Linked DNA regions of Homo sapiens: region 2 is linked to region 1. The links are contacts of gene promoters, found by promoter capture Hi-C in blood cells and fetal thymus (Javierre and others, 2016). All regions are on one chromosome and are shown on one strand. Each heading gives the region's core, a stretch centred on a gene start or on the middle of the fragment in contact. The rest is flanking DNA. Distances are from core to core; before and after follow the strand shown. Region 1 holds the start of NUDT10 (nudix hydrolase 10). Region 2 has its middle 22 kb from the start of NUDT11.

Evidence for each region. The method cuts DNA at HindIII sites, captures the fragments that hold promoters and counts their contacts. A CHiCAGO score of 5 or more calls a contact.
Region 2: a fragment that was not itself captured here is called in contact with the fragment with the promoter of NUDT10 in region 1 in 1 of 17 cell types (naive CD4 T cells); the score reaches 5.1 in naive CD4 T cells.

The regions. Positions count from the first base shown.
Region 1 is chrX:51,331,497-51,334,196 of GRCh38, forward strand. NUDT10 (nudix hydrolase 10) reads left to right here and starts at 1,326. Exons shown (of 2, transcript NM_001304963.2): 1 at 1,326-1,963. The coding sequence starts at 1,470. All of the region lies in intron 4 of LOC105373204 (a long non-coding RNA gene), which reads right to left. The HindIII fragment of the contact is 9,034 bases long and covers 1-2,700 here.
Region 2 is chrX:51,472,871-51,475,570 of GRCh38, forward strand. No RefSeq gene overlaps it. Among named protein-coding and RNA genes, the nearest start is that of NUDT11, 22 kb to the right of the region's middle. The HindIII fragment of the contact is 3,535 bases long and covers 1-2,700 here.

The DNA of each region.
Region 1 (2,700 bases), core at 76-2,575:
AGGACCCCTTAGTATTTTATTTGTTTTGTGGTGGTTAATAGTACACTTTGGGAGGCCGAGGTGGGCGGATCGCGAGGTTAGGAGTTCAAGAGCAGCCTGACCAACATGGTGAAACCCGTCTCTTCTAAAGCTACAAAAATTAGCCAGGCGTGATGGCACCCGCCTGTAATCCCAGCTACTCAGGAGGCTGAGGCAGGAGGATCGCTTGAACCCAGGAGGCGAAGGTTGCAGTGAGCTAAGATCGTGCCACGGCACTCCAGCCTGGGCGACAGAGCGACAGAGTGAGACTCCATCTCAAAAAATAAAATAAAATAAAATTGTGAAATAGGACGGGATCTCCATGTGCATGGTTTCCCAAACACCAAGTGGTGCTTATCAAAGAGAAAGATAGAGAAGGGTGGAGTGTGTGGAGAATAGGAGAACGTCTCTGGGCTTTAACGCAGGACTACTAGATGGGTGGTGCTCTGGTCTTTAAGGTGTACTGCATCGAAGTGCAAATGGCTGCAACACGGAGGCGAGGAGTGTACCCATGAGGAAACTGAGGTGCAGGGAGGTCAGGCAGGTTGTGAACAGGGGTTTAAGAAAAGCGTTAAATTACTGGCTGCGCCAAGATGCTCTGCAAGGTGGGAACCTGTTGAAGAAATAAAACTGCATCATGTGACTCAGCAAAGATGCCCGGCTACTGTGCCAAGAATCCCGTGGGTTGTGCAGACAACACTAGGGCCCAGGTCCCATGAGTAAGCCAGAATGGTTGATAGTGGGGGAGGATGATGACGACGCTGCCTTTGCCCCTGTCTTGTGTGAAACAACTGCCTGTGGGTTTCCTGCAGCGCAGTGGGGAGTGAGAGGAGAAACGTCCTGCCGTGCCACAGTGAGTTTGGGTCAAAGGCACACATGGAGGCAGTCTTGGCCAAAGTCACAATGCGGTGAATTTCGCTGTGCGCCAAGGAGGTTCCTGGCCCCAGGAGTGCGAAGCGCCTGCGCAGTGGGCCCCAGGCGTTGCGCGCTGCGGGAGCCAGGAGACCCCCGCCCCTGGCCCCTCGCCCCGGTTCCTCGCCCCTCAGCCCACGCCCTCCCCTGCGAACGCGCACGTGAACGGGAGCGCGGACGCGCCCGAGAATGCGCTTCACCTCGCAGAAGCGGGTGGGCTCTGTGGAGAGTCGCGGGCTCGCGGGCAGCAGCGCCTCCTCCACTCCGGCGGGCCCGGGTTCGGCCGGCCGCCCATCGGACTGGCGGACTGGCTGACTGACACGCCTCGCTTGCCCCCGCCTCCGCCCGTGCCCCGCCCAGCTTCATCTCTCCCTCCGCTCCCCGGGCTCGGGGGCAGACGGCAGACGGAGGCGCCTCTCTCTCCCCGCCCCTCTCCTCGGCCCTTTCTCTTCCCAGCACCTCGGCTGCTGCCCGGCAGCGGCAGCAGCTGCGTCGGCGGCCCACACAGCAGCGAGAGGCGAGAGGAGGCTGCCTCGAGGATGAAGTGCAAACCCAACCAGACACGGACCTACGACCCCGAGGGGTTCAAGAAGCGGGCGGCGTGCCTGTGCTTCCGGAGCGAGCGCGAGGACGAGGTCCTGTTAGTGAGTAGCAGCCGGTACCCGGACCGCTGGATCGTGCCGGGCGGGGGCATGGAGCCCGAGGAGGAGCCGGGCGGTGCGGCGGTCCGAGAGGTGTACGAAGAGGCGGGAGTCAAGGGGAAGTTAGGCCGGCTCCTGGGCGTCTTCGAACAGAACCAGGACCCCAAGCACAGAACGTACGTGTATGTACTGACTGTCACGGAGCTGCTGGAGGATTGGGAAGATTCGGTTAGCATTGGGAGGAAGCGAGAGTGGTTCAAAGTCGAAGATGCCATCAAGGTTCTCCAGTGCCACAAGCCCGTGCACGCCGAATATCTGGAGAAACTAAAGCTGGGCGGTTCCCCAACCAATGGAAACTCCATGGCCCCATCCTCGCCAGATAGCGATCCCTAGTATGTACCGCTTGCGCCCGCACAGACTTCTGTTTGTCTGCCTTGCTTAAAATGCATCCCGCCTGGAGCACCTCTCGTACCATGTGCGGTCTCATGGGCAGGAGGGAGGCTTTTGTTTCCTTGGCAGACCCTCTGAATCACGCTTGCAAACTGTTGCCAGGCCCTGTTTTCAGTTGGCACGTTTTTCAGTTGCTTTCAAAATCGCTTCTTGGTTACCCTGTAAAATGTTTCGGAGAAGCCTATGCCGCTTGGGGTTTTAGGTGCTGTAACTGTTCACCCTGCTTTTGGGCGGGGGGGGGGGGGGTGGGGGGCGAGGGGTGGGCGGGGAGTGTGTGTGTCTGCCTGTGCGCCCTGTGATGTTTTTGGTTCTTTTATATTTCACACATATTCGTGGGTGCGTGCACATTTTTGATACCAGCCTTGTGGTTTGTTTGGTAGTGGAGGCCTTTAAAGTCTGACCAGCTTGGTTGTGTGGCATCTTTTAGTATTTTTTTCCCTTGAGTTGTTTTCTCCTTCACAGCGTTCGCCCTTGTTGTCAGGGAGGCCTTCTGTGGTGGGAGTTGGTTTAAAAAATCAGTTTTGAATTCGTAAAAACATTAGGAAATCCTACATCTTGTGCTCTTTCTGCACTCGACAGTCGCTCTAGCCTCTGAAGTGGTATCTCATTTGCCCCTTTCAGAAATTTCTTTTTCTATTTCTATGTAGGTCATTTGGTTTTCAAAAAATTTTCACAAGTA
Region 2 (2,700 bases), core at 30-2,529, 140 kb after region 1:
TTTGTGGAGATTTAAATGAATTACCCAGTAAGTACTGCTTTAGCTGCTTCTTGCTTTGGTGTTTTGATTACATCCATCTCGAAATATTCTTTAATTTCCACTGTGACTTCTTATTTGACCCACAGGAATGTGTTGTTTAATTTCTACATATTTGTGAGTTTCACATGTTTCTTTCTGTCATTGATTTCTAAATTCCACTTTGGTTAGAGAATATAATTTGTATGATTTCAGTATTTTTAAATCTATTGATGCATGTTTATGGCCTAGCATATGATCTATTTTGCAGAAAGTTACATGTACTTGAAGGGGATATATATTTTATTGCTGTTGGGTGGAGTGGTCTTTAGATGTCTCTTAGTTTAAACTGTTTTATAGTGTTGTTCCCTTGTTGCTACTAGTAGCATGGAACCACCAAGCCCCTCTTAATTGCTCACCATTAAGATACTCACTGTTTTCAACAATGCTTTCAGGCATTAACTTCTCCAGATTTTGTTCCCCATAAATTCAGTCCCTTCAGGCAGAGATGCTATGCTTTATGCCCTGCCTTTCTACATATATAGAAACTCTGGACAAGTGTACCTGAGCTGGGTGTGGGTATAGTAGACCACTTCTCCAGTAACACCTTACTCTATTAGTGGACACTGAGGAGAGATGGTAGCCTCTGGTCATTTCAGCTTGCCAGTCTCCATGTAGAAACTTTACCTTACAAATACACTGGCACATAGGAGATTGGGAACCCACTAGTCTTAGCCTATCACAGCTGAGGCAGAGGCCTCACCCTACAAGTAGGAGCTAGTCCTCTAGCCCAGACTTGCCTGCCTCGACTAGGACTTCTGCAAAATGGCGCTGTGGAGGGATAAGACACTGGTGGCTTTCTCCTCCTGGGTCAAACTATGGACTAGGAACTTGGGGGATAGAGGCCCCCATCTTCTTGGTCATATCCACATGTAGCACATGTAGTAGAGGTCTAGAGTAGAGCTTGTCACATGGGGCTGGGGGAGATAGAACAGCTTGTAGCTCAAATGTCACAGATTCTAACCATTTTTGCCAAGATTTAGTAATTTTCTTAAATACTTCTTCATTTGTTATATGCCCTTATGACAATTTCTAAAGACTTTGTGTGTGTGCATGTGCATGCATGTGTGCGTATATACATAGCTGTCACGAAATAATGGTGTTTCTCTGGGAAATGGGTTCACCAAGATCCTCATATAACTATAACAAAAATGCAGGTTCAGACACTGCCATTTGCAGAGTCCAATTAACAAGAGCAAGGTCTGGTATAAAGAAAGTGACTTTTTATTCCAAAGCTAGCTTAGGGGAAGAAATACAGGCTTCCTGCCATAGAGGTACAAATTCACTTTTGGAGCAGAAAATTGACACTTTTAAAAAGGGACCCAGCATGAATGGCACGCAGGGGAGGAAGCAAACAGGTAGGGGTCTGCATGCTCACTTTGGTGCCTTATCTACCAGGCAGTGAACTGGTGCCTTTGTGAGCAGAACGAGATTGTAAAGGTGGCCGAAACTTTCCAGGTGGGAGAGAGTGTCATAGCAGGCATACTAAGGGTTGTAAATTGACTGTTGTCCCTCAAGGCAGTCTCCTGGTGGGAGAGAATTCTGCTCTGGAGCTTCTAAGAACATGGTTAGATGAACTTGCCCTGTAGGGAGCGTCTGATGTAGGGGAGATAAAAGGTTATAACTGCATTTCTAAAGGGCTACGTAAGAAGTGGGGAATGGGGAAATTGATAAAATAAGAGAAAATAATAATAATAACTCATTTTCTTTTTCTTAGAAATATGAGTATACTCAATTATAATTTCCCACTGTCAGGTTCCGTTTTACTTCTATGGGATTTGGGTGCCACATTCACTCTGGCTACTTCCTGCTGAGAAAGGGCATAGTCATTGTTTGTCAAAATGAAACTGATCTACTTGGAGTTGGAAATATTCACAAGTACCCAGACTTACAGATGATGTTTGTTGGAACATTACGGTGTGAAGTTTGAAGAGTCTTTGGGAAAGCCTGTCTTGCATTTCCATACAGAGTGTGCAACTGCAGTAAACTCCACAACAGAGGAATATGCCTATCCCTGCAATCAAGGCCAATGTTACAAGCAGCTTTTTCTACCAAGATGGTCTTGACCTGAACCAGAATACTGACCACTGGTCTATTGACAATATTATGTCAGACATAGGTTTGAGTTGTTGGTGCATGTCTTGCAAAGCTAGAGACATTTTTCCCAAATTATCAGGGATGTATATACAGCAGCTACTCTTAATTATCATTCAGGTTCCCCACTGCCAATTGTAACTGGATATAATGACAGGATGGCTAAATATGTATTTAAAAGGTTACAGGAAGAGTTATGAACACTCATGAAGGTGGCCATAAGCCCTGTCTAGTCCATGAGAATGGATTAGTTTAGTTAAATAGCTGTGTTCTATCCAGGAGGTAGCACTGCAGATGGGCTAGGCCTCTGTATGTGATGAAGGCAAACAGATTTTTGATAAGAGGCATGTCTATGGAAACAGAAGAAAAATAAAGGTTAATGTTGGGCACAATTTTCCAGATGTTAGACTCACAGCATCTTTAGTTACAGAGGAGGAAAGTTGTGGCAGCCTGACATGTTTTTCTTGCCTGTGTTACAAGGAACAATGTAGTAGCGATTTCATTGAGTTCGGATCAGGAAAATGGAAGAAA